Linked DNA regions of Homo sapiens: all the other regions are linked to region 3. The links are contacts of gene promoters, found by promoter capture Hi-C in blood cells and fetal thymus (Javierre and others, 2016). All regions are on one chromosome and are shown on one strand. The core of a region is centred on a gene start or on the middle of the fragment in contact, and the rest is flanking DNA. Distances in the headings are between cores, read along the strand shown.

Region 1 (3,061 bases), core at 488-2,987, 2.1 Mb before region 3:
ACAAAAGCCCCATGCAACACGTTCCGGGCTGTTGTGTAGATGTTTATTCTAGTCACTAGGGGAAGCACATAAAAACACCTGAGGTGTGTGTGCTGAAGGGCGAATTTTGTCCTTTTGGGGAGTTCATGATATAAACATCTAGAACCAAAAAGTCAAATCAGAAGGTCAGTTTAGGCTTTAGTTCTCTTTGAGGAAAGATTTAAAGCAATAGACTATAATAGTTACCCGGTAGACTAAAAAATTTGCCTTTAATTCTTTTGATTGGAATTTTTTTTTACAAAGTTTGGAGCATGGAAACAAATGAAAATTGAACCTGCTTATTTTTTAGGATGGTGTATTGATGGCCCCAACAGAACTTTCTAAAATCATGCGATAAACATATATGATAGTAGTTGTAAAATGCTTCTTGTTTTGAAAATGTTGAGTAATTATCGATAGAAATTTTGCTGTCCATTCATACATTCCTTCAATTAACTTTCATTGTTAAAAAATTGGGGGATTGATGTTTGGTTTGGTTTGTGGGGAGTGAAGAGGACTACTGGAGGGACCTTGTTTGCTTGCTTTTTTTCTTTTTTTAATTTATCATCAAGTCTAGGAAAGGAGTAAGTTGCCGACAATTGTCACTTTTCCCTCCTAAGAAAGTAACATGTTAAGATTCCCACCTACCAGCCTGGGTGACAGTGAGACTCCCGTCTCAAAAAAAAAAAAAAAGATTCCCACCCACTTTTAAGCTAAAGTATATGTAGGCATTAAAGATTTATTTAATAGAAATAAAGGGCCCTCTTACGGCCCTTTGTGGTCATAGGAAATATTTTTTTCACAAGTGGTACCCAAGTGTATTTTAGTGTAAATCAACTAGTGCTTGTAGGCTCACCTGTTGTATCTTTTTATTTTTCGTCTTTTAGTTTTTATAGGATGAGATAATTGTCTTTATTTGTAATTGGTTAAAGAATTAGAACAATGCGAGAAGCTTGTCTGGAGATGCCCTTTTTAAAATCGTTTCTGGCCGGGCGCAGTGGCTCACGCCTGTAATCCAACAATTTTTGGGAGGCTGAGGCGGGTGGATTACTTGAGGTTAGGAGTTCGAGACTAGCCTGCCCAACGTGGTGAAACCCTGTCTCTACTAAAAATACAAAATTAGCCGGGCGTGGTGGCGTGCGCCTGTGATCACAGCTACTTAGGAGGCTGAGGCAGGAGAATTACTTGAACCTGGGAGGCGGAATTGCGCCACGACACTCCAGTCTAGGCAACAGAATGAGACTCTTGTCTCAAAAATAAGTAAATACGTAGGTCCATAAAAGCAATTTTAAGTGGAGATGTCCTTTGGAGCTGGGAGTGAAGGTAGCACTTAAGCGGTGGCTTTGCATGTCTTGATAAAAGTAATGAGTTGTTTGCCTCAATACAGCTTCAACTAAAATTCGGATTTTGAGCTCAAAAAATGTTAATGCCCTTCATAGAAATTAAGGGGAATGGAAATCTTTTCTTAACATTTTACACCTCTACCCCTAAAATTTTAAGAACTGTACTTTATAAAAATGTGCAATTTTCATACAGCATCCCAGTGTTGATCATGGAGGTTAATGATTCTTTATTGTTAGGGACCTATCTTGTAATTCCAGAGTTATTTATGTTTTCTACAGTTGAAGAGGAAAAATACCGCTTCTTATTGCCTCCTTTTCAGGATTTCTTCTGGCTTCTTGAGTAGCTGGAGTATTTTTGAGAGACTCCTACAGGCCCTGCGGGGTGGCACATGCCTGTAATCCTAGCTACTTAGGAGGCTGAGGTGGGAGAATTGCTTAAACCCGGGAGGCAGAGGTTGCAGTGAGCCGAGATCGCATCACTGCACTCCAGCCTGGGCGACAGAGCAAGACTCTGTCTCGAAAAAAAAAAAGGCAAACAAATTTATCTGTATCAATTTGGAATTAAAAGATTTGTGTGTATAGATTTTTTGTTAAAAATAGAAGAAATAGGGGGAGGGTCCTTTTCTGAAATCTGAGAATGATAGGGATGATGACTATCAAAACCCAGGCCTGTGACTGGCTTGTTTAAAAACAAAACAAGGCCGGCCCGGTGGCTCACGCCTGTAATCCCAGCGCTTTGGGAGGCTGAGGCGGGCGGATCACAAGGTCAAGAGATGGAGACCATCCTGGCCAATATGGTGAAATACAGTCTCTACTAAAAATACAAAAATTAGCTGGGCGTGGTGGCGCGCGTCTGTAGTCCCAGCTACTCGGGAGGGTGAGGCAGAGAATCACTTGAACCCGGGAGGCGGAGGTTGCAGTGAGCCGAGGTCGGCCACTGCACTCCAGCCTGGCAATAGAGCGAGACTCGTCTCAAAAACAAAACAAAAAAAAACACAGAACTTTTAAATTGGGCTTAAAATTTTTTTGTGTATGAAGTTTTAAGATAAATGTGAGAGATGTCATAGCATTTTGCTTATTCAGCGTCTTTAGCAATTTAATTCCATATATCATCAAATTGACCTTACATAAGGGTAAAGCTTTCTTTCTTATAGTAGGGATAGTGTTAACCTAAGAGAGTCTTGGGTTTAATCTATTTTCCTAAATTTAAGTACTATCATTTATCTGATTTTAATGCTTTCAGTTGTTCTCCTCTCCCCTTCCATTTAAGCAAAGAATTTGTAAACTTAAAAAAAATTAAAATCTCAAATTTTTATATTTGAGGTTCTTTCACTGAAGGATGTTGATCTGCTCAATATAAGTAGAGGGCAAGATTTTGAAAAGGAGCAGTGCAAGTAATTATACCCACAGCGCATAACTAATTTTACAGATCTGTCATAGAGGCTTATACTTTGTACCACTCATTAAATGGAATATAGAACCTTGAGATCTGAAAGAATGTCCAGGGATTTAAATATTTAGGGATGTGTGGTTTGGAAAACACTTTGTCTGTGGGCTTAATTTTGTAAATCAACCAAACTCTAACCTACGATGTAGCATGTGTATTATAAGAAGTGTGAAATGTCATCAATAATCAGCATAGTAGTTTCCTAGAACTTGACTGGCAGAAAACTTTCTTTGATAGTATCAGTGGGTGCTCA
Region 2 (3,332 bases), core at 833-3,332, 2.2 Mb before region 3:
GTAGAAAAAAGTTGACCCAGGTTAAATATGGTGAAGCCCAGAGGCAGGACTGTAAAATACCTGGATGCCTACTCTGACGAAACAAACACTTAGCGCCTCTAAGGATTCCCAAAGGACACACCTGAGGGGGAGGGGAGAGGTGAATACTTGTACCTCTGAAGCTGATCCACAGAAAAGCAGAGTCATCAATTTCCTAAGAACATTCTCAGCCATCTTAAAACAGCAAAAATTAGGAAGACGGCATATTTTAATGAATCCTTTGGTTAGGTTTAAGATAAAGTGAAGAACACACAACCCAGGATGATTAAACAAACAAAAGCACAAAACTCAAGTCCAGAGGCCACTTCGGTCACTTCAGTCATAGCTAATGAAAGTATCACAAAGGATCTTTTCATCAAATGAAGAACTAATGACGTTATAGGTCTATATTCCTAATTCTAACCACTTACAGGTGTGTGTTTTGATGGATGAGAAAACTCAAGCTTAGAGCCTTTAAGTAACCAAGATCACCAAGGCAGGCAGTGAGAGAAACCCAGGCAGGATTCGAACCCTAGCTGGCTGAGCCATTCTCATTACCGTCACAGTCAACAATCAACACGGCAGTTTAAGTTCATCCTTACCAGTCACCCAGGAGATGAGTTTTGAAGAGGGAGTTTAAAAGGGGCATCTGACTTTCTCTCTCTCCCAAAGTAGAAGAGAACTGAGCTGTCAAAAACAGAAAAAGAAGTGAGTGCGGTGCCGCCCGGGATCTACATCCCGCAGCTCCGGACCAAGCCCGCCCCGCTCGACTCGCGCAGCCCCAGCCACGCTCGGCTCTCCGCCCGAGCCGAGGCGCCGCGGCTGTCAGACGCGGAGGGGCAGAGACGCGGCCCAAAGGAAGGGACAAAGAGCCTTCCCGGCCGCGGCCGGAGGCTGCCGGCCCGTTCCTAAGCCGGGTTTCCGCAGCAGCGGCCCTAGCGGGGCGGGGACCGGGGACGGGGGCGCGGCGGGGGAGGAGCGGCCGGCTAGGCTGAGGGGCGCGCGAGAGGTGCGGGCCCGGCTGGCGGACTCGCCCCTTACTCATTACCTGGCCGTGGGCTTCTCGTCACGGTCGCCGCCGCCACGGAGCTTCTGAGCCGGGGCGACGCAGCGAGAGCTAATAAGCGGGCGTCAGCTGCGTCCCACACTGGCGAAGCAGCCTCCAGATCGAGCTGGAGAAACGCCGGTGGGTGGGAGTTGGGACGAGGTTTGTTCCCAGCTTGTGGAGATTTTACTCCGCTCGTCCCTCGCACTCGGCTTCCGCTCCGCCTCCCTGCCGGCCCTTCCCGCACTCGGGGGCCAGCCGCCCGCGGCGCGCGGCATTGTGGGGGATGTAGTCCCAGAATGAGGAAGCGGCGGCACGTGCTTCCAGCCGCCCTGCACCTACCCTGGGTCAGAACGACGCAGCTGCGCGGCAACCAGAGAGGGCGGCGGGGTCTTCTGTGTTGGAAGATGAGCCCGCCAGAGGCATACCCTCGGCCTTAACTCGCTGCAGGCGCTGGAAGAAGGGCTCTGGCGTCTTGTTCCCGACCCTCCGGTGAGGAACCAACCTCCTAATACTATTGACCTGAGGCTGGGAAAGCTTAGTGATGATTAAGTGTGCTACAGATGAGACTACCCATTATTGAAGCCAAAGGTCCTTAGCCAGTGGAGTGAGGCAAGAAAAATAAAAGGATTGAAGATTAAATAGGAAGAAACAAAATTATTTTTTCATAGATTATGTAATTATGTACGTGGAGGCCGGGCGCCGTTGGCTCATGCCTGTAATCCCAGCAGTTTGTGAGGCCAAGACGGGAGGATCACCTGAGGTCGGGAATTCGAGACCAGCCTGGCCAACATGGTGAAACCCCGTCTCTACTACAGATACGAACTTAGCAGGGCGAGGTGGCGGACGCCTGTAATTCCAGCCTCTCGGGGAGCTGAGGCGGGAGAATTGCTTGAACCCAGGAGGCGGAGGTTGCAGTGAGCTGATATCGCGCCACTGCACTCCAGCCTGGGCAACAAGAGCAGAACTCCGTCTCAAAAAAAAAAAAAAATTGTTTGTGGCACTTCAAAACAATCTGCAGATAAACTGTTAACAATAAAAGTTTTTAACAAGGTTAATAGATACAAAAATCATATTTTAAAAAATCAATATTTATTTATATATGCTAGTAAAAAAGATAATTTTTTTAAAGATACCATTTCCAACAGCTCCAAACAAATATCAAGTACCTAGGAATAAATCGATCAAAGAAATGCAAAACCTGCCTGAAGAAAACATTGGAAGACACTGAAGAAGACCTAAATAAAGATGTAACATGTTCATAAATTGGAAGAGTCAATACTGAAAAATGCCAAGTCTCTCCAAACCTACCTACAGAGCCAGTGCAATTCCCAACAAAATCTCAATAAATTTCTGTGTATGTGTGAGAAACTTGACAAGCTAATTCAAAATGTTATGGAAGAGCAAAGACAAGCATTCATGAGGAAGAGGAGGAAGAAAAAAAAAGAAGAGGAGAAGGAGTGGGAGGAGGAAAACTTGTGCTACCGGATAACAAGCTTTATTATAGACTAGGCACGGTGGCCCATGCCTATGATCTCAGCACTTCGGGAGGCTGAGGCAAGTGGATTGCTTGAGCCTGGAGTTCAAGACCAGCCTGGGCAACATGGCAAAACCCCATCTGTACCCCCCAAAAAAATACCAAAGTCAGCCAGTTGTGGTGGCATGCACCTATAGTCCCTGCTACTCAAGAGGCTGGGGGCAGGAGGATCACTTTGAGCCCAGGAGGTGGAGTCTGCAGTGAGCCATAATTGTGCCACTGCACTCCAGCCTGGGCGACAGCAAGCCTCTTCCTCAAAAACAAAACAAAACAAAACAAAAACAAGCTTTATTTTAAAGCTGTCAACCTAAATAATAGGACCTCTAAAAGAAAAAGACACTCACTTAAGAATAGGGCATTGCAATGGGAATATACATGCCACAGTAAACTCTGTGTGTATTCAGGGAGGTAAAGGAAGACAAAGAAAAAATGAGGAGGATTAAATAATTGCTTTGAAATTATTATGCTTGGCTACAAGGATCAATAATAAGGGTGACTCCAGTTCTAGGTTCAACAGGCAGTTGCTGGGCAGATGTCCACACAGAAGTACTTGTTGTGTAAGGTTGCAGTGGTCTTTATGTAAGGTTGTGGTTTTTGCAGAGTCTTTTGCAATAGTTTAGTTATCAGGTATACACATGTGAAAGCCTTCCCTTCTTAGCCTTCCCCAGCTCTGTCAGGGTGTTTTGTTTTTAACACAAGTGACTCCATTTTGATTCTGACAATTTTCACATT
Region 3 (3,144 bases), core at 349-2,848:
TGAAGTTGTGGAATTACTTGGTACTGTACACTACCACTTGGATTTTGTACTTGTATGACTTGAAATTGACCAGGGGTGGAAGAATTACCTGATTTAGTTTTTGTAGGAGATGCACTCCCGTTATTACTGCTGGAAGAACTAGACGAACTAGAGGCTGGTTGAGAAACGTTATTCTCTTTTGAAGCAGGAGGAGTGGAGGCAACAAGTTGCCAAGCGTTTCCAGCAAGTTGCGTTGTTACCAGTTCTAGCTGTTGTGGTTGATTTTGAAGTTGCACCAATCCTTGACTTGGATCTATAATAATTTGTTGTTGTCCAGTTGCTTGATTTTCACCAGGAGTCCCTATTTTGCTGCAAGTAGCTGCCAGTAAAGCCAGAGGAGAGGGCTGAGAGTCCTACCCAAAATGGGACGGTAAAGGAGAGGGGGGGGGGAAAAAAAGTGGGCGGATTTAGTGGAGGCCAGTAGTTGCCAGGGGGTTACTTATTTTGACAGCTCTACATAACAATTTAGGAAGCAGCAGAAATCAAAAAGAAATACGAACAAAAGTAGATAAGAACTATATGAATAAGGAAGCAAGTCCTATAATATCAAGTTTAAATAAAAGGAAATTTCTTTACAACTTTGTAAAGTGTTATGTTCCTAAACTCAAAATGCCCTTGGGAACACACACACCGTTTTCTTATAGTCTGAATTCCTGATGTAATTTTAAACAGCGTTATACCCTCAAAGAGGTGAAAACTTGATGAATTTACAATTTAAGTTCCACACTCTCAGAAAGATGCTTTGAGTGGATAAACATTTTATTCTGTTACTTCTGGACATTCAAAGGGCATAACTCCCTCTCTCTCCTAATGTGTCGTGATGAATTTTTTTAATTTGTTTGCTTTTACCTGGGAGCCTGAGGTTTTGGGTTTTTTATTGTTATTCTCTGGCTCAGAGGTTTTCCCTCCTTCTGTAGCCATCGCCGCTGCCGCTGCCGCCTCCTCCTCCTCCTCCTTCTTCTGATCTGCAACAAACCCCCCCACCACACACACACGACAACAGGTTATTAGGATTATTATTATTCGTCTTCTTCCTCTCCTCTTCTCCCCCCTCCCCCCGAACATTAATCTCCATAAACCCGCGATCCACGCACACCGGCAGGGGGTGGGGGAGAAGGAGGGAAGGGAGGAGGGGGATATCACAAAACGTGGTTTGAAACCCGACCCATCGGCTCCAGAGCAACACCCAGAAGGAGGTTGTTCTCTCTCAGACATTAAGACAAAACACAACCCTCCTTCCCTCCCCGATTCCCTCCCGCCCTCTCCTCCTCCCCTTAAAGCATCTCAGCGGCCCCGGGGGAGGGGGGAGAACCGAGCAGGGTCTGGGGAGGGAGGGAGAGAGGGAGGCGGCGAAGGAGACTGAGGGGGGTGGAGAATACGTACCGCTCATCCCGCATTAACAGGACAAACCCTCAGACGGAGACACTGGGATAGAGGTGGGTGGGGGTGGGGGCGAGGCGGGAGGAGAGGCCGGTCCCGCCCGCCCGCGGTGGCTCGGAGGAGGCTGTAGCTGGCACAGGCTCTGCCTCTTTTTCCGCGAATGGCCGCCGCTGGGCTGTGGCGTAGCAGCTCCTCTCTCCGCCCGAGCCCGGCTGACTCGCCCTTGATTGACAGCGGCGGCGCGCGGCGCGGGCGGCGGCGCGGGTCGGGGGCGGGGCCAGGGCGGTGCGAGCCTGGCCGACTCCCCACCCCCCTCGGCCTCTCTCCGCCGGAGCCTCCGACTCTCCACCCCTTCCCCCAGCGGATTGGCCGCCGACCTGCCGGGGGCCGGGGCGCTGGGGCCGCCTCCTCTCCACCCCCTTTCTCGGGGTTATTCCTTTAGCAGCTCTTCTCCTCCTCCCTGGCTCCTCTGGCGCTCTTTCTCTCGGCGTTCTAGCTCAGGAGCGCTGCCGGTAGGCCCTCCATACAGCCAAACTTGTTGTCTCAGGATATCCCGCCCCCTACTCATTTCCCAGCGCCCTCCACTCAAAAACCCCCTCCAGCAATCCCTCCAATTGCCACTAAAGAAAAAAGTAGGGCCCTTGATCCAGGCAAGCGAGAGCGGCGGACGTGGGCGCGCGCGGACCACCAACAGGTCGGCGCGCTGGGTGAACTGCCCGCTGCCCCCGCGCAGGGAGCATGGCTTTCCTGAGGCGCATCCGGACCCGGGCGCCCTTTTTCCCTGGCTCTGTCTCCATTGGCTGAGCCCAGGGTGACGCGCGCTGAGTGGTGGGAGAAAGGGGGTGGGGCACTACCGCGAAGGCTGTCGGTACTCGTAGTTTCCGGCGGTCGCGGTGCCTTCTTCGAGGCACCGCCTCTCTCCCGCCCCCGACCGAGGCCTGGCTGCCGAGCGGAAAGCTGCCCGAGGGGGCGGTGGCGGCAGGGCGTGGCCGGGGCCGAGTGGGAGTTGAACTGAGCGAGGAGGAGGGGGAATGGGTGTTGTTTGCCTGGGCCTATCCGCCGCGCGGGGCTGCCCAAACCACCTCTGCCGCCGCCTCCTCGGCTCCAAGCCGCTCCCCGCGGGGCGAGCTCACACCCGGAGCGCTCGGCGATTGAGCGGGCGGCGGCGTGGGGAGGCGGGGTTTGCTGTCCTCGGGGTTTGAATGAACCCGGCTTCTTGAAGCAGCGCCCTCGCCTTGCCTTTCTTTGCTCACCTTCCCCTCAGGCCCCCTGCTTTGAGTCCGAGGCCTGTTTTCTCACGGAGAAGGATCTTCCATTTTTATTTGTTGTCTCTCTGGCTGGCAGCTGGTGCAGAGCAGTGACCCGCCTTCTAAGAAGGGTTGCATCGCGTTTTGCCTAAAAGCCTAAGTGGTTGGCGGAGTTCTAAGCCTTATCTGACAAGAGTCTCCGGGCGAAGAAAAGCCCAGCTCCATAAGGGTCAGCCCCGCTTACGGTGTAGCGTAAGCAAGCGTAAGGGCAAGTGGAATTAACATCTGGCTGCACAAAGCATCTTACTGTCAAATGCACTTGAGCAGTGTCCTGCCTCAGCTTTCCTACAAAGTCCTGAAGTCAGGATGATGCCATGGAACGTAATCAGCGCCTGATTAACTGTACCAAAGGTGGAAGTGACCCCACATGTAAATACTGGCCTTGGGAACAAGGCATGCTTACACCCCAGGCTCAAAG

The links. The method cuts DNA at HindIII sites, captures the fragments that hold promoters and counts their contacts. A CHiCAGO score of 5 or more calls a contact.
Region 1: a fragment that was not itself captured here is called in contact with the fragment with the promoter of SP4 in region 3 in 1 of 17 cell types (neutrophils); the score reaches 7.3 in neutrophils.
Region 2: a fragment that was not itself captured here is called in contact with the fragment with the promoter of SP4 in region 3 in 1 of 17 cell types (total CD8 T cells); the score reaches 5.3 in total CD8 T cells.

Annotation. Positions count from the first base shown.
Region 1 is chr7:23,527,504-23,530,564 of GRCh38, reverse strand. The region is part of intron 1 of TRA2A (transformer 2 alpha homolog); the gene reads left to right. Among named protein-coding and RNA genes, the nearest start is that of TRA2A, 2.9 kb to the left of the region's middle. The HindIII fragment of the contact is 1,530 bases long and covers 973-2,502 here.
Region 2 is chr7:23,595,340-23,598,671 of GRCh38, reverse strand. It overlaps CCDC126 (coiled-coil domain containing 126), which reads right to left and starts at 1,290. Exons shown (of 4, transcript NM_138771.4): 1 at 1,067-1,290; 2 at 621-705. LOC105375187 (a long non-coding RNA gene) reads left to right here and starts at 1,347. Exons shown (of 2, transcript XR_927098.2): 1 at 1,347-1,555. RefSeq lists a silencer at 809-1,048. The HindIII fragment of the contact is 959 bases long and covers 1,603-2,561 here.
Region 3 is chr7:21,426,537-21,429,680 of GRCh38, reverse strand. SP4 (Sp4 transcription factor) reads right to left here and starts at 1,598. Exons shown (of 6, transcript NM_003112.5): 1 at 1,423-1,598; 2 at 889-1,004; 3 at 1-392. The coding sequence starts at 1,429. RefSeq lists silencers at 1,305-1,894, 2,275-2,664. The HindIII fragment of the contact is 8,073 bases long and covers 1-3,144 here.